7 separate regions of the Homo sapiens genome follow, and regions 1, 2, 3, 4, 5 and 6 are each linked to region 7. The links are contacts of gene promoters, found by promoter capture Hi-C in blood cells and fetal thymus (Javierre and others, 2016). All regions are on one chromosome and are shown on one strand. The core of a region is centred on a gene start or on the middle of the fragment in contact, and the rest is flanking DNA. Distances in the headings are between cores, read along the strand shown.

Evidence for each region. Contacts are between HindIII fragments. The CHiCAGO score rates a contact against its expected background, and 5 or more counts as called.
Region 1: a fragment that was not itself captured here is called in contact with the fragment with the promoter of FLI1 in region 7 in 10 of 17 cell types (activated CD4 T cells, total B cells, total CD4 T cells and 7 more); the score reaches 12.9 in activated CD4 T cells.
Region 2: a fragment that was not itself captured here is called in contact with the fragment with the promoter of FLI1 in region 7 in 14 of 17 cell types (fetal thymus, naive B cells, activated CD4 T cells and 11 more); the score reaches 15.2 in fetal thymus.
Region 3: a fragment that was not itself captured here is called in contact with the fragment with the promoter of FLI1 in region 7 in 9 of 17 cell types (total B cells, activated CD4 T cells, fetal thymus and 6 more); the score reaches 10.0 in total B cells.
Region 4: a fragment that was not itself captured here is called in contact with the fragment with the promoter of FLI1 in region 7 in 4 of 17 cell types (total B cells, total CD4 T cells, activated CD4 T cells and 1 more); the score reaches 6.1 in total B cells.
Region 5: a contact is called between a fragment that was not itself captured here and the fragment with the promoter of FLI1 in region 7, in 5 of 17 cell types (total B cells, naive B cells, total CD8 T cells and 2 more). The highest score is 9.3, in total B cells.
Region 6: a fragment that was not itself captured here is called in contact with the fragment with the promoter of FLI1 in region 7 in 13 of 17 cell types (activated CD4 T cells, total B cells, total CD4 T cells and 10 more); the score reaches 17.5 in activated CD4 T cells.

The regions. Positions count from the first base shown.
Region 1 is chr11:128,260,784-128,264,554 of GRCh38, forward strand. No RefSeq gene overlaps it. Among named protein-coding and RNA genes, the nearest start is that of LINC02098, 54 kb to the left of the region's middle. The HindIII fragment of the contact is 794 bases long and covers 1,318-2,111 here.
Region 2 is chr11:128,295,143-128,298,728 of GRCh38, forward strand. LOC124902786 (a long non-coding RNA gene) reads left to right here. Exons shown (of 2, transcript XR_007062945.1): 2 at 1-1,007. Among named protein-coding and RNA genes, the nearest start is that of LINC02098, 88 kb to the left of the region's middle. The HindIII fragment of the contact is 2,255 bases long and covers 561-2,815 here.
Region 3 is chr11:128,311,261-128,314,908 of GRCh38, forward strand. All of the region lies in intron 1 of LOC124902787 (a long non-coding RNA gene), which reads right to left. Among named protein-coding and RNA genes, the nearest start is that of LINC02098, 100 kb to the left of the region's middle. The HindIII fragment of the contact is 886 bases long and covers 1,692-2,577 here.
Region 4 is chr11:128,359,315-128,362,756 of GRCh38, forward strand. No RefSeq gene overlaps it. Among named protein-coding and RNA genes, the nearest start is that of LINC02098, 150 kb to the left of the region's middle. The HindIII fragment of the contact is 2,597 bases long and covers 534-3,130 here.
Region 5 is chr11:128,219,849-128,223,387 of GRCh38, forward strand. The region is part of intron 3 of LINC02098 (long intergenic non-protein coding RNA 2098); the gene reads left to right. Among named protein-coding and RNA genes, the nearest start is that of LINC02098, 13 kb to the left of the region's middle. The HindIII fragment of the contact is 1,156 bases long and covers 1,256-2,411 here.
Region 6 is chr11:128,278,485-128,282,187 of GRCh38, forward strand. No RefSeq gene overlaps it. Among named protein-coding and RNA genes, the nearest start is that of LINC02098, 72 kb to the left of the region's middle. The HindIII fragment of the contact is 1,951 bases long and covers 854-2,804 here.
Region 7 is chr11:128,691,971-128,695,558 of GRCh38, forward strand. It overlaps FLI1 (Fli-1 proto-oncogene, ETS transcription factor), which reads left to right and starts at 2,102. Exons shown (of 9, transcript NM_002017.5): 1 at 2,102-2,306. The coding sequence starts at 2,289. SENCR (smooth muscle and endothelial cell enriched migration/differentiation-associated lncRNA) reads right to left here. Exons shown (of 3, transcript NR_038908.1): 2 at 685-1,421; 3 at 1-151. RefSeq lists silencers at 1,161-1,210, 1,231-1,370, 2,054-2,423, 2,644-2,693, 2,734-2,953 and 1 more and a cis regulatory region at 1,590-2,322. The HindIII fragment of the contact is 9,137 bases long and covers 1-3,588 here.

The sequences.
Region 1 (3,771 bases), core at 465-2,964, 430 kb before region 7:
TGTAACTCAGCTCCTTGAAAATGAGCCACTGTGGCATACCAGCTAGGAGATACTTTAGGTCTAGAATGTGGACATTCTGCTATAATGTTTCCTCACATAAATAGGAAACAGAAAATATTCTAGAGCAAAAGCAAAATTAACATGATCTGAGCTTACTCCGAAAATGTAGAATTCAAATTACATATGGAAGATCTTAACCAGAAGCAATGAGATGGGAGAGTTCCCTGACCCCCCTCACAGGAAGTTCTAGAGGGGTGTGGCTTATCTGTTTGGCCACCACATGCTCAAACCGCTTACAGGAGGGGGACCATTCAGACAGGCAGGCGCAGGAGCCGGGATGAGCACTTTTGGGCTCCAGCCCCACAGTAGCGTCTGGGGAGAGTACCTGCAACTCCTGAAACCTTGATGGGCTTGTTGCAGTGCTCCTTTTAGCTCTGACATCCACAGACAGCTTAAACGTTAACCAGCTCAGTGCCCTCTTGGTAGCCAGGTTCTTGTCTGGCATCCAGGAAAAATCAGGTCACACAGACAAATTGAAGGATGGTAAATGCTGGGAATTTTATTGCCAGATGGAGGTGGCTCTCAGCGGGATGAAAGGGAATGGAGTGGGAAGATGAGATCTTCACCTGGAGTTCAGCCAGCCTGCGGCTGATCTTCTCTCCAACTGCCCCCAGCTGAACTCCTCTTGATATTCAGATGCTTCTTCTCTTCTCTCCTTCTTTGCCTTGCCACTCTTCTATTCCTCTGCTCTTCTGCTCATGGAGCCTGGGGTTTGGAGTTTATATGGGTACAGGATGGGGGGCGTGGCAGGCCAAAAGGCAACGTTTGGGTGCAGAAACAGGAATGCCTGTTCCCATTTAGGGCCGTAGGTTTCCAGGCTTGAGGCTTTGCTGGGGAACTGCCCTCTTCTACCCAGTATCTCCCTTGCCTTCTGTTCGTATCAGCAACATCAGTAGGATATGGAATTATGTTCCCAGACGACTTCTGAAAATACATGATCTCCATCAGGGCATAAGACTTCACAAGAAGTACATAATAGAAATCATCCCTAGCATTGAGAAGAAAGAAATGAAGTCAGCTCCATCCACTGCAGGCCCTGAAGCCATGGGACAACAAGGAGGTAAATGCAACAGCTCATGTTCCTTCAGAGTAGCAGGTTTTAGCGGGGAAGAGCATAGCCAGTGATCAAAGAAACTCATTAGAAAAGATGACAAGAAACCTTCCTGTTTAATACTGCTGTACCTTTTCCACTTATTACTGAGATTTCCTCTTCTGAAAAAAAATCATAGTGATTCGGACATTGTCCGGCGTGAGTAAAGCTTAAGACAGCTCTGCTTCAAATTCTTCTTTCATCCACCCCCATTTATTTCTGATTGACATGACACTTCCAGCCTGAAGAAGCTGACAATCATTGGATAAGAGGTAGCACAAGAGGTTCACCTGAGAGGAAATAAACAGGAGCTCAATGGGGAAAAAACAGTAATACCACATTTCAGTGGCAGGAATTAGTAAAGTGCTTTTATTTCCATCTCCCTTTATCCCTTCAGGCAGCCACTACAGTTTGACTCCTTTGATTCTCAACCCAAAAGATCACATCCTGATCTAAATGAATCCTTTTTGTTAGAATGTCTTCCCTTTCCCATTTGTGGGAAATGCCTAAATCCTGACCTAAATCCAAACCAAAACTGTCTCCTATCTGCTGTGCTATGCCTCTTATTCTCCATCTCCCACTTCCATGGCCCAGAAATATGAGTCCGTCACCGTCTTCTCTCTGTGCATCCTCTGATCTGCTGGACTCTAATCGCTCACTCCTGACTTTCGCACGGTAGAAATAACAGACTCTGCTGGCCATGTGAATACAATCATCCTTTTCTATCTCTGTGTATGCAGAGTAGTGGGGGCAGAGGTGGTGAAGAGAAACAGGACATAGGGAGGGGGGCTGGGCTAGAGGAAGGAAGGCTAATGACAGAGAAAAAGGGAAGAAGGGGTAAATGAACTCTCTTCAGACAGAATGAATACATTCTAAGCCCCAAGATTTGGATTTTCACAAAGCGCTTATAAACCCACCCAACTGAGCTTCAACACTTCTTAGAAACAGATTTGGTATACTAAGCTTGAGCTTACCATTACAGTGTTTTATGCATGAAAGTGCCAAGTCAGAGAAAACATGAGTAGAGAATGGGGAAGGAGAGAGACGGAAAAGAAGCCGTTGCACGAGTTTTAACTGATGAGAAGCACATTGTCAGGTTCTGCCCTGGGGAATCCCACTCTGGCTATGTCTGCAGGGATGGTAGATGAAGAACACAGAACAAGGTAGGCAGAGGAACACCCTTGGTGTATCCAGAAATGGGCTCAATTGCTGCAGGAAAGCCGGGGCCATCTGTTCTTTTTCAGTTTGTGGAAAATATTACTTCGGTCCAAAAGGAGGCTCTGTATTTGGCCACTTTTAATAGCTGCACATAAAGACATGGTACCTGTTCACAGACTGAATATTGTTGATGACTTTTGTTCATTTAAAAATATAGGTTTATGTTGAGAATATTTCAATTCAAATACGATTATATTATAGATAATTTATATACAAGAAACTATTGTTAACTATTGTCTCCCTACTGTACTATAGAGCATTAGAACATATTGCTTCTGACTAACTGTATTTTTGCACCCATTAACCAACTTCTCTTCATGCCCTCTCCATAGCCTGCCCAGCCTCTGGTAACCGCCATTCTACTCAGCACCTCCATGAGATCCATTTTTGTCAGCTTCCACATGAAAGAGAACATGCAGTATGTGTCTTTCTGTGCCTGGCTTTTTTCTCTTAACATAATGACCTCGAGGTCTATCCATATTGCAACAAAGATGAATGTCTGGTGTGATGGGTTTCCCAATTACCCTGATTTGATCATCACACAATTTACACATGTATCAAAATGCCATCTATCCCCCAAAATATGTATAACTATTATATTTTAAACAATAAAATTTTTAAGAGCAAATAGATGAAGAATAGATTTAACTTTATCTAAAAAAGGTACAAATACACACACAAAATAAGCCACCAATAATCCAATTTTGAATATGAATATAGATGCAACACACATACAAATGCTAATGTGTGCATGTGTAGGCAGGTAGATAGATGGATAGACAGATGAATAATAGGAAAATAGATATAAGAATGTCATATATGCAGGAAGATTGTCTTCCCCTTTGCCTTCTATCCAAGATTAAAAATGTATTGTATATATTTTATGTTTATAGATTTTTTAATTTAAATTATAAACCAACCAGAATTTCCTTTATGTATAGCATTTAATATCAAAACCTAAGGATATATTCTTCTAAGTTTATTTCCAATATCTCCAACATTATTTAATATATTTCCCAGTGATTTTGAGACATATTTATCACATATTAATTTCTCATGTACTTTCAGATTTCTTTTTAGACTCTATTCTCTAACACTAATTTATTTGCCCCTTCCAGTGCCAAAATGTTTGCTTTACAGCTTGTACTGACCCACATTTACACTCTCATCTGACCTTTAGAATTAATTTGCATGATTAGTGCCAATATCTATTCCCCAGGGTGAAAAGTAATTGCCTTCTTGTTATAATTGCTATACAAGTTTGGAAAAAAAAAAAAACAGAAAAAAATAGCGATTGAAGCATCAACATGTATAAGGATGTTTAATCTCAGAGGCAGTATCAAGGCAGAGACTCATAGATCATCCCAACCCCAATGTATTTATACCTATAGCAAAATGCACAT
Region 2 (3,586 bases), core at 438-2,937, 400 kb before region 7:
TTGGCCTAAAGATAAAATATTCCTGGGTGTCTGTTGTAGGGACTAAAATATTCACATTTGGAAAGAGATAGTAGTGTTAGACTTTGCCCGTCAAACACAGCCTCAAAGTTAATTACCATTGCCTGGCTTGTTTCTAAAACCACCAAGTGTCTATTTGAGTGTCTGGGGGAAGAATAAGAGAGTTGGGCTAAATGAGGTACTATTATTTCTGCTGAATTAATTAGACTCAATTACAGAGTTAGATGGGGTCTTGTAGCTCTAGGGATCAGCCCTTGTTTCCTAAATATGGGAACCAAAGCCTGGAAGGAGAAAGATGTTTGTCCCTAATCACAAACACAGTTCCTGGTCCTGGAAAAATGTGACCTAGGTGGAGAAAGAAACAATAAAAAACAGAAAAGAAGGAGGCAAAAGAGGAGCCAGTGACCAAAGGCAAGCTTCACTTATTTATCCTGGGTCTGCCCAGGAATCTAGCATCAGACAGTAAGAGCCAACATGGAGACAAGTCAGGCCAGTGACCTCAGAGGCACGCGGCCACTAGAAAGAAGCCCCCGATGGCATGAAGCTTTGTTCTCTGACATAACCTATGCATCTAGCACTGTGCCTGCCTACAGGAGGTGCTCAGTTACTAGGAAATTAACAAAACTGCCTTGCAGATCTTTCCTGGCTGAAGATGAGGAGTGAGGGAAGAGAAAGAAGACAACTAAATTAGGCCCTCAGCTCCTATTTCCAGAACAGTTCTGAGAGTGTCTGTTTCAGAGTTTGAGTTTCCACAACTGCCTTTGTTAACAGGAGGGATCTATAAAAAACCAATGGTCTGGACCAGGGGCTCCCACTCTGAAAGTCTGTGACTACCAGGGGCAGTGGAGTTCTTTCACGATTCGCCTAATGTTGTTGTCTTAGAAATAATACCACTTATACAAAATACAAAACCAGCAGGACTATTTCCCAAATAAATGTAAATGAGACTGGAATTAATAAAGGTAAATTCATTTTTTAAAATTACAAAATACATAAAATCCTTTTGCTATTAAGTGTCAATGAGCCATCATGAGTATAAAAACTATAGTATGTTTTATGACTGTATTGATATTTGGAAGGGATTTCCCTGTTCATAATGTTTGGAAACCACTGCTCTGGACCTGTCCCCTAATTTCATAGATAACATCTTATAAACTTCTTCCAGAGGGGAAGAAGGATGTGGCCAAAGCCACTCAGCCTTCTGGTAGCAGAGCTGGGTATCAAATTCAGGTCATCTCTGTCTTTTTCTTTACATCACATTTCCTGAGGTGGCATTTTCTAATACCTTGATCCAAAAGGACCACTCAGTTCAACTCAATTTATTTCCCAACTGGTGATGTTGGTAGCCTAAATGGTGTGCCAGGCACTGCATCCTCTAAGTGTATTATTGTCACCACCCTTACATCACCTCAGTGAGGCAAGTCCTATTATCATTCCCATTTTAAATGTTAAAAAAAAAAATGGGGACTCAAAGAGTTAGACAGTTTTTACCAGGCCACATGATCAGCAAAGTGCAAAGCAAAGCTCAAATTCTCTGACTCCAAAGCCCAGGCTCTCATGCACTTTACTGCACACGACTTAAGGAACACATTTATAACAAACACTGGTGTCCATTGAAATAAAATTTAAGGGCATTAAAGGCAGCCCTCGGCAGTGTCAGCGATGACCCCACAATGACTGCTGTGGGCAAGGAGTGGCAGGAGGCAAGAGGTCCCAAGAAATGCCCCTAGAGAGGCCGTTTCTCAAGTGGAGAATGTGGACCCCAAGACCAGAACCACCTGAGTGTTTCCTGAGAATATCATATCTTAGATTTCATCCAGAGCAGTTCAAACAAGATCTCATGAGTGGATCTGGAGTATCTGCAGTTACTACAAAAACCCCAGCTGCCTTTGAGCTCACCGTAGTTTGAGAATGAGAGGGCTGAGAGACCCCAGGCAGGGTGTCAGTGTGAGGAGATGAAGGAGCAAGAAAGTAAAAGTCAACAGCAGGCCCAGCTCCAGCTGCAGAGGAGCCTAGTTGAGCCTCAGACACACGCTTGATGCTTCACATAGGGCCATTCCCCACAGCCTGGCTTTCTGCAGAGGGAGGAGGGGTGCCTTTCATGGTTCTGGGTGTGCAGAAGGTTTGCGTGTGTTTGTTTAGAACAAAGCCTATACTTAACTGGCACAAGTGAAACAGATTTTATAAATAGATGTGAGCATGAATGGTTTTTATGATTAGCTTGTTTTTAATCACCATGCTTGACCGGTGTCTGTGTTCAACTAAGTAAATATTTCTATGGTGATAGTATACACAATACAATGGCCATTATTTAATGTTAATACAAGTACCATATGGGAGGTCTTATCATGCGAGAGCCCCAAAGCATAATAAAAGCAGATAGGAATAGATAGGCAAGGGTGGGCCTTGCTGTACAGCTGGCTTGATAAAACATCTGCTCTTACAAATGTTGGCCATGCAAGTATTTATGCAAGATGGTTCTCCTGGGGGATTTTGGGGACAAGATCAGAAAGCCATGGATTCTGCGTTTTCTCTGTTACTCATTTGGTGACCTTGGATAAGTCTCTATACTAATTGTTTAAACATTTGTGCTTTAATTTCTCAATTCTTAGGTCTTTGCCTGCCCTCCAGAGACTAATGAAGATTAATTAACACCTGGCAGAATCCTTGAGTTATATTTTTAGAACAAAGAAACAGGGAAGGGTGGTGCTGAAATAATGCCTCATTATTTTAACATATAAAAGGGAGACAATCCAGTACATTTTTCACTTACAACTGGAAATTTGAGAAAACTTGAAGCTTCCTGAGATTAGTAAAGCAGCCTTGTCATGAACAAAGCCTCTTAGGAAATGTACTAGGTTGCAAACCTCGCCAGATGACTTTTCACTCAGTAGGAACAACTAAGATGATAAAGGGCATGAAACTAGAATGATTGTCTCCTGAAAAAGGGCAAATGGGAAGGTTAGAGCTTTTAGTGTCGTGGAAAGGGACATTTGCCTGTTCACAAAGGCGTTACTCCTCTGATTTGCCTTTCATTTTTTAACTTGATGATACTACAATGTTTAGTGCAATCCAGTGCTCCTAGCCTGTTTATGTATTATCTGGCATCATCTTCAGCACTAGCTATGAATAGATAAGAGTGTTCCATTCTACGCCTTAGTCTTTTGCATCTATATGTTCTAATGAAAAGTATCAACAAGAACTTTTCATATTTGTTTTACACTTCCTGTCTGTAATATGCATTTGCATTCATGATGTCATTATAGGAGATGGGTACTATGACCACCCACAATTTAAAACTGAAATGACCTCCAAGAGGCGATTTATCTAAGTGCAGGGTTTAGTTGGTGTAGAACTGGAGCTCAGACCCAAGACCTGTGCTCTCTGAGTGCAATGATTAAGGAGACTCTGCTTATTTGTGAATTAGAAACTGGAATTTGGCCCCAGGAAGAGGAGCTCTCCTGGGTGGTCAGGCTTACTATGGGGAACTCTCAATTAGATTTGAGGGTGTGGGCTAGTGCATGTTTTCCTTCTGGAAGTGAGGGCCTCTCGCAAGCACCCCATCATC
Region 3 (3,648 bases), core at 885-3,384, 380 kb before region 7:
CTGGCTGTGGCCTTGAAGCAGCTGCAATGATTTTCATCTCCTGGGCAGACTGAGGTTAGGAGTTTAATCTATGCTACGGGGTGAGGTCAGAACACCTTCCCTTGTTTTGATCTCATTGGGCTCCAGCCTCCCTTATAAAGGTCCTATTAAAAGGGGCTATAACTGCCTCTGTCTTGGCCTGCCTACTCTATGGGAATTTTCCTATAATTTTGAAGTATTTCAAATCAAAATTTAATTATTTGGAATGGTTTATTTAAAACCCTTCTGAAGGAAAGAGGAAGGGCTAAATGAGGTCTTTGGCATTCTCCTGTACTGCTACTTTCAGTGGGGCTCTTTCTGCCCAAGGCTCTTTTTCAGTAAATTGCCCTGGTTGGCTAAACCCAGTGGGTTTCTTCCTATCACCATATCCCATATACTCTTACAGGAATTTCAGAAGAATTACTCCTTTTTGTTTCCTGAAATGAGCATTCTATGAGCCTATGTTTTTAAATAAAATAGCCTGGAACCATTTTCATTAAAAGATAGTACAGCAGTACAGTGCAAACATTTAACTTATGAAAACTAACAAGCAGATGAAACAAAAAGAGTTGAGGGCACTCAGTGAGGAATGCTCACTATTGAGGTGTTAGTCGTGAAGCACTGAAGAGAGTTTGAGAGAGTTCAGGGAGGTGTTCTAAGCACATCTGCCCTCAGCATGTACTGTTTGTATAGGATGTGAGGTTCTGGACCAAGTCTCAGCAAGGAGAGAAAAGGAGTGGGGAATGCAATGAGGTCTCTCTCCTCATAGTGCTCAGTCCAGGGGAAACCTAGAAAGGAGTAAGTCAGGGTCACCCTACAACTATTTTTGAGGCCACAGTTGCACAGGGCACCCACTGAACACCATTTCAGTTCAAAAGACACACTTGCTTATGAGCCTCATTGAGGGTAACTCATCTTGTATTCACCAGAGAAAGGGGGAAACCCACTAATCTAGAAGTAAAGGGACCTGTAACACAAGAGCTTCTGTATGACACTGCCAAGGCTCTGTACTGACTTTCAAAAACAAAACAAAAGTAAGAAGTTTATAATGGTAAGAAGAATTGAAACCTGCAAAGCAAGTTTATCAAAATATAAGGTTAAAGTGGGGATTCCAAATTGTCCAATATAATATGACGCTAAGTCAAAATTTCGTTACCACCTTGAAACTTTTCTTCATGAGAATTTTGTTCCATCTGTGTCTCATTAACATGTTCACTTATGTTTACTGTCCTATGAAGTCATTACATAGCCTCTTTTCTGAGGGCTCAGACCTCTAGACAGTCCTTCCTCAAGTTCACCTGAGAGTCACACCTGGCCTGAAACCTTTAAATCTAAGAGAAAAACTCACCTATACATTTCAACAATGTTTACTTAAAAATCCAAGTTATCCAAGGTCATAATTTTCATGGAATATTGCCAGAGGGTCTTTAACTAAATGTCACCTTTTAATTAAGAAGGCAACTGGCAACTATTTCTAAAACTTAGATTGCCGTCTCAACATTCTCTATTTCTCTTTACCTCTCCTTATTTTTTCCTTAGCACTTACCACCATTTAACCTAGATTATATTAAATGTGTCTGGTTTGTTGTCTGTGTCACATAGTAGAATGTTAGTTCCATAAGGGAGTAAATTTTGACTCTTATTTACAACTATAGTCCCAGTATCTAAAACAAAGCTTAGAACACATTAAGAACTTGATAAATATTCATTATCAAATTCTACAGCTCAACTTAGCACCACTAGACCCATTGACTCTGATGCTGATATCTTCTCAACAAAATCATACATGACATAAGAAAAATAAATAGCTTCTTCTCATATGATGGGTTTTCTAGACCAATATTAACCAGTGTCTACATGTGACTGTTGAGCATGGAAATGTGACTAGTCCAAATTGAAATGTGAGTATGAAATACACACTGGATTTCAAAGAATTTGGATAAAAAAAGGATGGAGAATATCTCAGGAATCATTTTATATTGATTGCATATTGAAATGATAGTATTTTAGATATATTGGGTTAAATAAAATATATTATTAAAATACTTTTTACCTGTTTCTTGTTTCTTTTTTAATGATGCTACTAGAAAATTTAAAATTATATACATGGCTTATATTATATTTCTATTGGAGAGCACCTCTTCCAGAATACAATTTTCCAATGCCTGAAACACTTTTTTGAGGAAATGCTAGGATGCAGACCAAAATGTAAAGAACCTGACCTCTTAATCCTCTTTAGAGGAATTCATATTATTTGTGTACAGTTGTCCCACCTCATCAGGGGAGGTTGAGCATTCTGCAGTTTCAGTTACTCAGGGTCAACTGAGGTCAAAAAACAAGTGAGTACAGTACAATAAGATACTTTGAGAGAGAGAGAGAGAAACAACATTCATATAAATTTTATTACAGTATATTGCTATAACTGTTCTATATTATTTTCAGTTATTGTTCATCTGTTTCTGTACTAACTTATAAACTTTAGCATGAGTATGTATATATAGGAAAAAACATAGTATATAAAGAATTCAATCATATCTGTAGCTTTAGACATCCAATGGAAGCTTTGGAACACATCCCTTTAGGATAAGGTGGAATTACTGTATAAGGATAAGGATTTTAGAAAATAAATTCCCTTCTACATGATGGTTTTAATCTGTTTCTTTCTCAAACATGAAACAAAGGAATTTTGGTAGAACACAGAGTGAACTAGGGCTCTTAAACTCAAGTAATAATAGAAGTATTACTTGTCTGTTATCTGGCATATAATCATGTATTAGTCTGTTCCCACACTGCTACAATGAACTACTTGAGATTGGGTTATTTATGAGTAAAAGAGGTTTAATTGACTCACAGTTCCTCAGGATGTACAGGAAGCATGACTGGGAGACCTCAGGAAACTTATAATCATAGCAGAAGGTGAAGAGGAAGTCAGCACCTTCTTCACATGGCTGCAGGATAGAGAGAAAGCAAAGGAAGAAGTGCCACACACTTTTAAACCATCAGATCTCATGAGAATTTACTCACTATCATGAGAGAAACAAGCGGGAAATTCACCCCCATGATACACCACCTTCCACTAGGCCCCTCCTCCAATTCAACATGAGATTTGGTTGGGGACACAAATCTAAACCATATCATTCTGCCTCTGGCCCCTCCCAAATCTCATGTCCTTCTCACATTGCAAAATACAATTATTCTTTCTCAACAGTTCCCCAGTCTTAACTCATTTTAACATTCACTCAAAAATCCACAGTCCAAAGTCTCATCTGAGACAAATTAAGTCCCTTCTGCCTATGAGCCTGCAAAATAAAAAGCAAGTTCATTGCTTCCAAGATACAATGCGGGTACAGGCATTGGGTAAATGCTCCCATTTAGGAGAAATTGGCCAAAACAAAGGGGCTACAGGCACCATGCAAGTCCAAAACCCAGTAGGGCAGTCATTAAATCTTAAAGCTCCAAAATAGTCTCCTTTTATCCCATGTCTCATATCCAGGGTATGCTGATGCAAGAGGTGGACTCCCAAGGCCTTGGGCAGCTCCACCCCTGTGACTTTTCAGGTTACAGCCCCAGTGGCTTCTTTCATTGGCTGGCATTAAGTGTTTGTGGCTTTTCAAGGTGCATGGAGCAAGC
Region 4 (3,442 bases), core at 582-3,081, 330 kb before region 7:
GCAGGTCCTGTGATTGGTTTTTGGCAGTCTGTCTCTTCTCCATCAGGATGGACAGCCTGAAAGCAGAACCCATACCTTTTGTCTGAGAATAGTGCATACATAAGCCCTCTGCCTAGTAAGTATTAGGCATTCAGTAGGTGCCTGGTCAATTGATGATATACTATGACTTACTTTTTGAAGGAGCTGAGAGACATGAATTGGCAGAGAGAAGACCTGAATTGATATCAAGGGAATTAGACTCCATGAGCAAGATAGAACTAAATTTGATTAAATGGGTCTCTTTCAACATCGTAATGCCATTCCAGAGTGGAAGTCTCCACTTTAGGACAGCTAATCTCTGGTTTCTAAGTTTCCCTAAGGGATCGCAGACAGGAATATAATCTGTTCCACAGGCCCTGTCCTCTTTCCCCTTTTGGCCTCTGATTCTTAGCATTGCAGAAATATTACTCACAGAAATAAACTGACCTTTTGAAAAGTAACCGAAATCATGCATTCCAGCTGAGGACAATGAACTTGATGTTTAAAAAAGTATAAGCTTCTGTGCCAACATAATGAACTTGTTGGCTACTACTATGTTCTTTCAATTTTGGAATAAACATAAATGTGACCCTCAAACACTTGTTTTAATAAAATCATTTAGTGTGTGTGTTTTTTCTTCCTACCTTAGCCAAATGTTATTGAAAGTCCAGTGGGGTGGTTAAACCCTACCTTATCTCCTTAACAGTCACGAAGATCATAGAATTTTTGTTTCAGAACCATGACCACCCCCTGCCCAATGACTTGTGTAATCCAAGATAGATCTGAAGGTGATTGCACATGATACAGATTTAATTCTATGAACATAAGTGTAGAAGTGAAAACACAAAGCCCTTTGAGTTAGATTTATCCTTTCATCATTGATAGTAACAACCTTGGATATTCGCACAGTACCTGACAGTTTACTAAAATGTACTTATTGTTGTCATATTTAATCCTTCCAAAAAAGTAGGAAGGTGTTTTATTATTATTATCATTGCCTATATCTTATGGATGCAGAAACTCAAGTTTGGAAACATTACATGATTTGCCAAAGGCCAAATGTAAAACAGGTTTTAGAAACCTGCGAGGTGTGGAGGAAAGTGTACAGGCTCCAGCCAGACAAAACCTAGTTTGATTTTTGGTTCCTCCACTTATAGCTTTATGATCCTTGACCTAAACAGCGATTACAACAAAATGTATCTCATGCTCACTGTGCCCAGGTCAATGTTCTAAGCACTTAGCTTGTCTTATATTATTTAATCTTCATAAGAGCCTATGAAATAAGTTCCATCATTATTCCCACTGACAGCTGAAGAACCTGAGACACAAAGGGATGGGAAACTTGTCTGGAATCTTCTAACTGATCAGTGGAAAAAACAGAATTAGAACCCATGTAATTTGACATCAGAGCCCAGGCTCCTAAGCACTAGGAAACCCCGTCTCCCTAAGTCAGTTTGCTTCTCTCAGTCACAATATTCTCATTGGTAAAAGGGAGGTAAATGGTGCCTACCTTGCACAATTGTTATTAAAAGTAGAAATAATATCCATCAAGTACCTAGCAAAATTCTTAGTAGGGCACTCTCACCAAATTTTCAGATTTCTCTAACCCACGTGAGATTTTCCATGATATGCTAGGCCAGGATTTTTATTCTGAACCCATTTTGGAGTCCATAAATGAGCTTCAGAGACAATACAACCCTCCTGAAATGGCATCGGTAGGTCTATCTCTGTCTCTGTCTCTATCTCTTTCTAGCTGTGTGTGTTTGTGTGTGTATGTGTGTGTGTGCGCGCATGCATGCACTCATTTTTCTGGGGACACTGTCTCTAGCTTTCATCAGATTCACAAAAATGTCCATGTCTCCCAAAGAAACATTAGCACTACTGTTGGATAATCTTGAAATAAGTCATATACTCTCCAACTCTATTTTTTCATGTATAAAATCATTTAAATATTTTATCCAATCAACATCCTCAGCAGAAATGTGTTTGCCAATTCAACTTACTGTTAATCAAGTTTTAAGCTCATGTTATAAGAAGATCTATTTCGTTTCTTGGATGGGTATAATTGAGTTTGAAGATCTGAGGAAAGAAATGTTTCCTATATCTTGGCCTTCCTCCCTATCAGCTGGCTGTGTTTGGGGCTGAGAAGAAGTCTGCATCAGCACATGTGAGTGTGTGTGTTTACATGGGCCCCAGGGGAAGTGATGACTGTGAGGCAGGCTGTATGCCTGTCCTGAAATGTCTGCCCTCCTCTTATCAGAAACCAATGTGCGTGTTTATTCTATTCCCTCATTAATCTCCTCCCAGCAAACCACAGACTGCCACAAGCAGCTTGATGTCTCAGCACACTTGGCAGCCAGGCAGGTCACTAATGAGTCCTCAGCACCCTGGCCTTGTTTGTTGCTCCCCAGCCCACCAGGAACTGGACTCTGCTGGGCTGATGAGAAGTGGGCGGAAGGGAGTGTACTGGCCCCACAACCAAGGTGCGCACAGGGATGGACAGCCCCAGAGAGTCCCAATCCTCACACCGTCAAAGGACAGCAGACACAACTGATGCCAGTTTATATGAGGTTGACATGAAGTTCAAACCAGCCCACTGCTATTTTTAGTGGAGAGGTTGGCGGTGTGATTGCAGAGGGCCTTATTTAATAAATCACCTACTCCCGGGATTCGAGAATAAACAAACGCTATGAGCAGTGTGAAGCTGCCATCACCCCTCCTGCTCTGCATTTGCTTTCTCACCTTTGCTCGTCTTCTATTTCTGTTTTTCTGTTCCCACTTCTGTACTTCCTTCAGCTGGCTCTTTGAGAAACACAGCTGAGCTTAATGCATTCATTAAGTGGAACTAAATATTCCCGAAAAAAATTGAGTTATGACAACTTTTTGAATAAATATTTCATGGTCCTTAAAAGATTCTAGGGATGTCTCTATAAACCACCTTCCAAACCCTCTTGCTTAAAGGGCTCTTGCCTCATTAGGGCACTGGCATTTCAATGTTGTATGCATTTTAACATTTAAATTAAAATTGTTCTAATTTAATAGCTTCATTCACCACAGCCTCTTATGTTATTATAATCACCTGTAAGTTATGCAATGGTGATAAATGGCATAAAGCTTTAAAGGTTTCAGATAATCATACCTATTTTATTCTCTCTCTCTCTCTCTCTCACCTCCTGAGCTCAAGCAATCCTCCCTCCTCAGCCTCCTAAGTATCTGGGACTACAAGCATGTGCCACCCTACCTAGCTAATTTTTTAAATGTTTTTGTAGAGATGGGGTCTCATTATGTTTCCCAAGCTCATCTCAAACTCCTGGGCTCAAGCAGTCCTCTCCCCTGGGCCTCCCAAAGTCCTGGGATTACAGGTATGAGTTACTGTTCCCAGCTCCTATTTTCTAATCTCCTCCCACACATTCCCCAATCTTTC
Region 5 (3,539 bases), core at 584-3,083, 470 kb before region 7:
TCCAAAATGGCGTGAAACAAAAATAATTTTGGTGAGGGGGTGAAAGGGCCAAGAAAAAAACAAGAAGGAAAGGGAAACTGAAAACCAGAAAACAAGCCTCTGGTGAGTGTCGTAGGAACCGACTGCCTCTGTCTCTTCCTTAATCCACTTCTGCCAAATGAATAGAATTCTCTCCCTGTCTCAGCAGCTCATGTGCGCCTTGAGTTTATATCCATATATCTGTAATGGTGGGCACAGTGTAGGGTGAGAAGAGGAAGAGTAGGAGAGATTATTTAAAAAGAAAGTTTTACAACCAGGAAGTATTGGAAGAGGCAAATCATGGCAACTCTGGATGTTTTTCCTAAAACCCCAGAGAGAACTGACTCTAAATAAGCTAAATTTTTCTCTAGATAAAAAGTCTTTTTCCTCCTGGAGTCCCAACAGTCCCTTGCATCATAAATGAAGCCAGAAAAAAAAAAGTTATGTTGAATAGAACTTGGTAAACTTATCCGTTGCCAAGTTACAACGATGTGACATCCCACCTCTAGCAATAAGAAAAGCTGTAGCTTTGGATCTATGAACACAGAAGTGTTATAATAATTGTTCAGTCACATCCTATTCGCCTAAGAAAAATAACTTGCCTTTATAAATTACTCACTAGCAGGGAGTATCTCAGCACTGAATGAATTTCGCTATATTTTCACTAGTCTTCAAATAAAATCTCTTCATCACAAGACACTGAAATGGACAGGACTATTCAAGAAGTGGAATTTAGGCTGGGAACAGTGGCTCACACCTGTAATCCCAGCACTTTGGGAGTCCAAGGCAGGAGGATCATTTGAGTCCAGGAATAAGAGATCAGCCCAGGCAACATGCTAAGGCCCCATCTCTACAAAAAATGCAAACGTTAGCCAGCATGGCGGTGCAAGCCTATGGTCCCAGCTACTCGGGAGGCTGAGGTGGGAGGATAACTTGAGCCCAGGAGGTTAAGGCTACAGAGAGCTATATAACTGCACTCCAGCCTCGGCGACAGAATTAGACCTTGCCTAAAAAATAAAAAGGTGGAATTTAGAAAGTCAGCATATATTTCCTCTGCTTTTAAAAAATCTCTGCAAAGATATCTTGCATAATTATGCCCACCTCCCACCTCTGTGGATCAAGAGCCACCTTATGTTTGCAAAAACTTAAATTTTACAGAACATTTTAGAAGAGGTCTGATTAGTTGTTTCTGGAACAAGATGGACTTGGAATACCAAAGACACACAGAGAGTAAAGAAGCTTGGGTCTAAGTGAAGGCTGGTCCTTTTATCTTATGTGTAACTTTTGTTTTTGTTTGTTTGTTTGTTTGTTTTTTTAGACAGAGTCCCACTCTGTAGGCCAGGCTGGAGTGCAGTGGCATGAACTCAGCTCACTGCAACCTCCACCTCCCGGGCTCAAGCAATTCTCCTGCCTCAGCCTCCTGAGTAACTGGGATTACAGGCGTGTGCCACCACACCAGGCTAATTTTTTTTGTTTTTTGTATTTTTAGTAGAGATGGGGTTTCACCATGTTGGCCAGGCTGGCCTTGAACTCCTGACCTCAGGCAATCCGCCCACCTCAGCCTCCCAAAGTGCTGGGATTACAGGCGTGAGCCACCGCACCCGGCTCTTATGTGTAACTTTTAACAAGTCATTTAACCCCTCTGACCTTCAATGTATTCATCTGTAAAGTGTAGACAATGTCTTCCCTATATATTATAAATGACTTAGGAAGATTAACCAGTTAATACGTGTATTAAAATTATCATCACTGACCATGCTGCGTCAGTTTCCTATTTCTGATTTCCTACTAACTGCACCAGATTAATCATAAAATTCCACTTTCTTCATGCAATCAAAGAATGCTGATTTTGGGCAGGACAGTATTATTCTGTATCCAAAACATGCCACAGCATAGCCTCAGTCTACCATTTCCACCTTCAATCTCATTTCCCAGCACTCCACAACATGTGTGCTGTGGACTCAGCCTGAACTATCCTACAAAATATCTTTGCCTCCATGTCTTTGTTTACCCCAGAGATAAATAAAGTATACATTCTGCCTTCGCATGTTTGGGCTTTCTCCACACCCTTGAATGTCTCCCTTGGAGTTCACAAGGTAGTGTCCAGGCTTTTGGCTTGAGATGTAACATTATTCATCTTTTTCCTCTCTCCTGTATTGTCTCCTTGAGGAAAGAGATAATGTATTCTGATTGGTCGTTTTCTGTTTTGGGTTTTTATTTTTTGTATTTTTCACAACATAAAGAACAATATTTTGCACACAGCAGATGCTCAATAAATGCCTTTTAAACAATGAATGATTTCAATTTCATATAAATGCAAGACTTGTTCTGTGGACTCCACCTTTCAGAAGAGTGGGTAGAGACAGAGGTCACCTCTTCTTATCTGCCTCGGAAGCTTATTGAAAAAAGAAGTGTGCGGCCCAGAAGAAACAAGGGTGCTGAGAGCCTCTAGGGAGAGCCACCTTGGTCCGAAATGAAGAATGCAGAGGTTTATCCTTCAGCCTTGAGTAATAAATCCCTCAAACCTTGAATTATTTTTCACTATAAACAAGAAGGCATTCTCTGAGTACTTAAAAATTCTTGAGATAGCAGCAGGTCATGGGAAGCCATGCAAAGTCTGCTCAGTGCAGGAATCTGATTCTGGGTGTCCCCCTGGGAAACCAATCTCCTGAACCCAAGGAGATCCTCATCTCTGAATTTTTTCAAATAGCCACAAAGGAGACCTAAGTCGGAAGACTTAACCTCTTCTATGCTCAAGTAAGCCCTTAGCTGCAACTGGAATTCAGAGTATTTCCACTTCAGAATATCACACACATTTCGGAGGAAATGGGGGATTGACTTAGCCTGGAAAGATAAGGCATCAAGGAGATCTCAAAGGAGAAAGCAGTTTTTAGCCTCTCCACACAGTGCATTACTAGGGCAATCACCAAACATTTAACACCTGCACTGTGGCTTCAGCAGGGAGCCCTGGCTTCTGCTTGGTTACCCCTGCTGAATTCCCCTCAGCACAAATGAGAACTGGCTGTGATTTCTTTCTCTTTTTTAAATTTTAAGTTATTGGGTGCATGTGCAGGATGTGCAGGTTTGTTACATAGGTAAATGCGTGCCATGGTGATTTGCTGCACCCGTCACCCCATCACCTAGTTATTAAGCCCAGCATGCATAAGCTGTATTTCCTGATGCTTTTCCCCCTCCGACAGACCCCAGTGTGTGTTGTTCCCTTCCTGTGTCTATGTGTTCACATTGTTCAGCTCCCACTTATAAGTGAGAAGAAGTGATGTTTGGTTTTCTGCTCCTGTGTTAGTTTGCTGAGGATAATGGCTTCCAGCTCCATCCATGTCCTGCAAAGGACATGATCTCATTCCTTTTTACGACTACATAGTATTCCCTGGTGTATATGTACCATGTACCACATTTTCTTTTTCTTTTCTTATTTTATTTTATTTTTTTTAAGAGACAGAGTCTCGCTCTATTGCCAGGCTGGAGTGCAGTGGCGCAATCTCGGCTCATTGCAACCTCTG
Region 6 (3,703 bases), core at 579-3,078, 410 kb before region 7:
TCCTTCTGGGACTCTGAGAACAGATATGTCAGTCTTTTTTTTTCTCTTTCCACCATGACTTACATATCTCTTATGCTCTTTACTTCAGTTGCCACCCTGTCTTCTTGCTGGCATTCAAACTGTATACTTTCTATTATTCTGTCTTCCAGTTTAAAGATCTTCTGTTTTTGCTGTGTCTAATTTTCCATCAGAGCCATCTATTCTTAACTTTGTTTATTATGTCTTTCAATTCTAGAATTTACATTTGATTTGTATTCATGGATTGAAGTTTTTGCTGGAATTCTCCATTTTACCCTCCATTTTTTTAACGTAATCATCATAATATTTCATAGTCCCTGTCTGATAAGTCCAATCCTGGATCTTTAGGGGTATGTTTCTATTGCTTTAGATGGTGTTTTCTTCCTCTAAAGAGGGCTTTATTGTTTTGTCTTGATTTTGTTGTCATTTGTTTGTTGGTTTGTTTTTCTCGTAGGCAGGTAGAGTACGTACGGATCACTTTAACCCTTTTTATAATGGTAGGCAAATATAGTGTGAGGGGTGCCGATCAGCTCAGTAGAGACTGAGCTGATTTAAGACTTCATATTAAATTTAGTAAGGCTAAGCCTATTTCTAGCTCACCTCTTTCTTATGGTGTTAATCGGGGCTTTTAACCAAGAGCTTGTGTGTTCACCGGGTCTCCTCTTCTGGTTAGATTTGTCTTCTCTCATTAGCAGAGTGAAATCCTCTCCTTTTTAGAGGTTTCTGACTTGGCTTTTTAGTGTTCCATCCCACACGGCTTTGTAATTCAGTGTCCACATCAACGACTAGTCTAGATGTGTGTTTTAGGCACCTCCGTCTTGTCACTGTAGCCCAAAGCTTCGATAATTACTCTGTCTCCAGCCATACGTCACTTCCCTGACTCAAGCCCAGGGTTGCTAGGAAAAAAAAAAAAAATACAGAATACCCAGTTAAATTTGAATTTCAGGTAAACAACAAGTTTATCTGCACCAGAATCAGAAACTACTTCCCAAAGTAGCTGCAGATGATCAACTCACCTCCCTGCAATTCCTCCTCTCCAGAACCTTCTTCTCTGACAGCTTTGTTGCATCCACAGCTCCCTGCCTTTAAATGTTTTTTTTATTTTAATCTGGCTTTTTAAGTTATAATTTATTAGAAACATTGCTTTGCCATTCATTATTCCACTTTACTGGAAGTTAAAATTTACCCTTACATTTTTAACTTACATACTCGTATACACATTCTTTTCCTAACAACACGTTTTTTGATGTCTCTGTCTATCTCTGACAATAACAGAAAAATTAGCATGCTTCATATTTCTCTTCCCCTATCACATCCTTGTTGCCTAGCAGTATGGGGTTTAAGCCCATGGAACCCCTGGGACTCCCTTCAAGAAGCAGAGTTTATATTAGCAGTTCACACACACTGTTCCATTGTGATACTGGTGAAATTTACAACCTAGTTCATGAGCCAGAGAGCAGCTGACAGTGACTGTCTTCCCATTCCTATGCTTAAGTCATAAACAGCAAATAGAGCTATTTTTATTCATTCTTCTTTCATGAGCTTTTTGCCCCACCTCTGCTGTTAAATCCTAAGCAATGCTCTGGCATCCACAATGCATAGGGCAATCGCAATCCCCAGAACCCCAAATGAGCTTTAAAAACACAAAGAAATGTTCCCACTCCACCCCATGCTGTCATACACAGCAGACTTCAGACTTCAGCCAGGTCACTGCTCATTATTTTCTCATTGATTTCTAAACTCTCTTTATACATGTTTATTCTGCTTTCTCTCTTTCTTGTTAAGCTATTTTAATTTTATCTGCTACTGCTAAGTGTTAGCAACACAGAAGGTTTCTTGAATTATAAAATAACAGTATGTTTTTTTGTTTGTTTGTTTGTTTTAGGCAGAGTCACTCTCTTGTTGCCCAGGCTGGAGTGCCATGGCACAACCTTGGCTCATTGCAACCCCTGCCACTCTGGTTGAAGTGATTCTCTTGCCTCAGCCTCTTGAGTAGCTGGGACTACAGGTGCCTGCCACCACGCCTGGCTAATTTTTGTATTTTTAGTAGAGACAGGGTTTCACCATGTTGGCCAGGCTGGCCCCGAACTCCTGACCTCAGGTGATCCGCCCACCTCCACCTCCCAAAGTGGTGGGATTACAGGCATTGAGATACCATGCCTGGCCTAAAATAACACTAGATCTTTTTGCTGTTGTTCTTCAGAAAAAAAAAATATTTTATTATAGGAAGAAACTATTTTTAAGAGAAAGTGTCTCATTTAAACAGATACAGCTATTTATGGGCAGTGCCAAGACCAGAGCTGGGTCTTCTGACTTCTAACTCCTAGTCTACTGTACCATGTAATAGGGCTGAAAATAACACTACATCTTGACTGGAAATTCAATAGAGTTTTCTTTACTTTCTTTTATTCCTTTACTGACTTGAAAGACATACATTCTACTTCTGTTTTGTTGGAGTTTACATTTTTAAAATTAACAACTGGATCTTCTACTTTTTCTAACAAAAAAAATTGTTTTTTATCTTCCTTGTGAAGAAAGTAGTGACTTTAGAGTACATTAATATTCCCCCTAAACCCTCTCTTTGCGTCTTCTAAGCTGTATCTGTCTAATGTTTTCTTTCAATTCTTATTTTAAGCAGAAACCATTATTTTTACATTCTATACAAGTTTAGATTAATTAATGTTTAACCAATATTTTTATCTACCATTTCTCTATGCAATCCATTTTTTCTCTTCCTAATTTACTTTCTTCTTGCCATAGTATAACTTTAATAGTTCTTTAACTGAAGCTTTATTAATTTTTAGATGTCTAAACATTTCTTTATCTTTTTCTCATTTTAAGGCTCAATTAGGTAGGTATATAATTTTAGTTTCAAAGCTATTTAATACATTAAACATATCCTTTCCTTTTTTTCTATCACTCAGAGTTCTTTAGGAGAAGTTTTATATTCTCCCTTTATACGTAATATTTCTTTTCTCCATTGTAGTTTTTAATACTTTGTTTATCTTTGATATTCTTATATTTTATTGTAATGCCTACGATGTGGACTTTTAAAAATTTGCCTCTATACTTTGGGCACTTTTTAAATGTGAATATTCATGTGTTCAAATCTGAAAAATTCTCATTAATTAGCTTATCAAATATTGCTTCTTCACTATTCCCTGTGCACTCTTTCTGGAATATCTATGAAAGAAGGTTGGATTTTCTATACTATGTATTTCCTAACTTCTGTTTCATTTAGGAAAACTTTTTGATATGCATTTTCTATGATCTCTTCATGTCTATCATTTAACGCTCTAATTCTTTTTCAATATGTAAAAAGTCTCCATTTTCTAGCCCATCTATCGAGTTTTCACTTTCGATGACAACATTTTCCAACTTTAGTATCTTTTCGGTCCTTTTCTATATTTGTTTATTCCATTTTATAATCTTGTTTTATGAATTATATTTCTTACAGCATTTTTGATTTATTATAAAGTCACATATCTCTAGGTCTTTGAATGTAAATTATTCTGTTTATTGGATCAGTAGACTGTAGTATTTTCAGGCACGGTCATTCCCTGTTATTTGTGTATTCATATTTGTGAATTCGTCAACTCATTAAAATTTACTTGTAACTCCAGAGTCAATCAATATTAAAGGCAGTTTTGCTACGATCCATAAACATGTGCCTGTGGCACGCAGT
Region 7 (3,588 bases), core at 852-3,351:
GCCTCCTGGTGGTGGAGTTGGAGTCCTTTCTGGCTGAATGAGGAGCAATGTGGCTGGGGTGTGCGGGTTTCTGGTGAGGTCCGGGTGGGAAGCCGTCTCTCCGCATTCTCCTGAAAGCTCTGTTGTAGTTTGAAGGTCGGTAGAGCCTGGGCTGAAAAGGAAACAATTTGGGGTTTGAAAGGATGTAATTCATTCTTCCTTTCCCGTTAACCTCTTTCCTCTCTGGAAAGCACGTGGAAACGCTGAAGGGAGGAGTGAGAGGGCAGGCAGCCTGCCGCGGGGAGGAAAGGGTTAAGCCTGATTTCTTTTAATTGAACTCCAGAACTGGTGGCCCCAGGCAAAGGGGGGGACTGACCCCGCTAGCGGTAACCAGATGTGGCGGTCCCAGGGGAGCCCCGGAGCAGACCCCTGGATTGAGAAGCAGACAGGAGCGGGGGGAGTCAGCCCGGCCCCCATCCCACCATCCACCCCACCCCCACCCCCAACACGCACACCAAGTCTCAATTGCTGGCAGGCTGCACCCGCCACTCCAGGTCTGGTCACGTTCAGACCCGTGTCTGTATTCGAACCCAAAATTGGAGCCGAATTGATGAGACTAATTTCTAGAGAGGGAGGGGGAGGGAGGGAGACGAGTGAGCTCTCGGGCTCAATTGCTCCTGAAGAAATAAAGAATTAATAAGTCACCTTTTTTCGCCTCTGTGGACACCCTTTTGAAATTTTTTCTTCCAATTGACTTGGATCTCCTCTGGATTTTTTTTCCCTCTTTCCCCCGTCGGACTCTTAAATAAAAGTGAGCAAGTCCAAAGCGTGGTCCGGAGAGCGTGGACAAGGTAACCTGTTTTGGATGTCCGGGAGAAGGGAGTCCGGCCGAAAGGGCCCAGCCCCTCGAGGCTGCTCCAACTGGGGCGCGCGGCGGCCCAGGAGGGAGGCGGGGAGGTCTCCGGGTTGGGCCGGGGAACGCCGGCCTCCAGGCTGGGTAGGGAGGACGGTCCAGAGCGCGGGCCTCCGGGTCTCACCCCGGGAAAAGTCTGGGTCTGCTCTGCGCTGTTGCGTGCTGCGCTCCTGGGACCTGCTGACTGTCCTAGAGGGAACGTCCCGCGGTAGTGTCAGTTCCCTGGGGACCAGGAAGGGCGACTCTTGCCTGGGAGTCAGTGCTTGGGCCGTCGGGTCCGGGTAAGCGCTGGGGGTTTGGCTCGAGAAGATGCGGATAGGTGGCCTAGGGCGCCGCGGATCTCCGCCCTCTGCGGGCACCGGGAGCCCAGGGTCGAGGCGCGCCGCCCCGAGGGGCCCCTTCTCCTAACAATGCGCCCGGAATGGAGTCCGCGCCCTGACAGCGCGGGTCAGCCCGAAACCGCCCAGAATCCGCTTCGATGAGTGGGTGAGCCGCTCTGGGAGTCTGCCGCGTCTCGGCAGCGGAGGGCCTGAGTGGAAAAATTCTTATTGGATGCACTTTTTAATGGTTGGTTTGCCTCGGTTTTCGTCCGAGTCTTCCCCGGCAGTAGGCGCTGGGTTACCCGCAGCCCTAGCCAACTCTCCCTCCATACCCCCCCTACCCCACCCCCAAAAAGTTTGTCTCCGGCTGGAAAAAGCATTAATGAACGTATCTGTGGGAAGAAACGGAAAGTGAATGAGTCAGGAGGGCCACCTTCGGCCAACCGCCTCAGGAAAAGCAAAGAAGCCAAAGGTCTTTGGCTTTGGATTTTGGGGGAAGGTGATGGGGGGAGGTTCAGACTTCGGGAATCAGGGCGCGGACGCTGGGCGTGGACCCCGTCATTGTTCCCGGCTAGCTCTTATCTCCCAGGAGCAAGTATCCTGTGTGCGCAGCGCATGAATGTGTCTGGGCATCTCCGCGTATATTTATATAGTGTGTGATGCGAAAAGCAGGACCAGCAGGGGAGGAAGAGGGGGTGTGGGGGGGGAGGGAAGACGAGGGAGAGCAGAGGGGAGAGAAGAGAGAGGAGAGCTCGAGGCGAGAGAGAGAGAGAGAGAGAGAGAGAGAGAGAGAGAGAGAGAGAGAGAGAGATAGGACTTCCTCCCCGATTCGCAAAGTGAAGTCACTTCCCAAAATTAGCTGAAAAAAAAGTTTCATCCGGTTAACTGTCTCTTTCGCTCCGCTACAACAACAAACGTGCACAGGGGAGTGAGGGCAGGGCGCTCGCAGGGGGCACGCAGGGAGGGCCCAGGGCGCCAGGGAGGCCGCGCCGGGCTAATCCGAAGGGGCTGCGAGGTCAGGCTGTAACCGGGTCAATGTGTGGAATATTGGGGGGCTCGGCTGCAGACTTGGCCAAATGGACGGGACTATTAAGGTAAGCGGCGGGGCAACGGACGCGGGCGGCGGGGACCGGCCGGGGAGGCGAAGCGGCGGGCGGGTAGGTGCGGGGCCCGCGTCCCGGAAGACGTGGCCTCTCTCCCTTCCCTCCGCGCCCCGGCTTCGCGCCGGCTCCTCCGGCGCTCGGGTGGCGAGTCCTACTCGCGGGCCAGCCGGCCAGGCGCCCGCATTGAGGGCGACCCTCCCCCGAAATCCCAGCCCCCAAAGTGGAGCCCCGGCCCCCCTCCCACCTCGCTGCCCGCCGGGGCTGCAGGAGGGGACGGCGGGAAACCGGGGGACCCCAGGGTACGGAACGGAGTCAAGGGCGAGAGACCTCGGGGTCCACCACTCCCACCGACACCCGGGGCTCCCGTGGCCCCAGCGCTAGGCACTGGGCTTCCTCTCCGCAGAGGCGGAACACGGCGGGGGCGGGGGCTGCAGTCGCCCGGGCTCGGGTCCCTGCCTGGTGGGCCCTGGGGTGGGTAAGTGGCCTCGTTGCACGAGGGTAGGGGTGCAAGTGAGTGTGTCGGGGGATCTATCTGAGCGGGCTCCTCCAGATGGAAGCCCCTGTTTACATGTCAGCGCTTTCCCTTCCTCTCGGCACTCAGTCGCCCGGCTCTAGGCGCTGGAGAGCCGCCGGCTCCGCGGGACTCCTGGGCCGGCCTCGCCGCCTCTCCGGCGGGGAACCTTCCCCAGCCCCCGTCCGCACAGATCCCTAGCGCCCCGAGCCCCCGCCCTTCGCGCCTAGGCGTGCGCCGGCTCCAGGACCAGGGCTCCTGGAGCTGTCGCCTCCGAAAGGGTCCTGCGTCCTTCGGAGCCGCCTCCGTTGCAGGGGCCGGCTGTGAGCCCGCGCCCCGCGCCCGCCCGGCCATTCCCACCCCAGCCGCCGCCGCCAAGCCTGGGTCTAGGTTGCAAAGTGCAACCCAGGCGGAAAGGTGAGGGTTTGGGTTCGCGTCTCACTTCAGAAAAGTTGACTGCTGTCTCTGAAAGGGTTCGCCAAGTAGGGCCAGGAGCAGAGAGGAGGGACACCCCCTAACGTGACGGGCCTTAGAGGACCTAGGGGAATGAATGGGACCAGGGGTTAGCTTCGAGGCTGCCGCGCAACACCAAGCGGGAGTCTGTCTGGAAAAACTATTAGGCTGGCGAGGTGGGGACTGGCAGAGCCCGCCATTCCCCAGAACCCGAAAGAATCGACTCCCTGCTCAGGGCTCAGCAAGAGAAGGCTAAGATGTTGGGCTCAGAGAATTCAAGAGATTTTTATCTTCTGGGTGGGGTCGTGG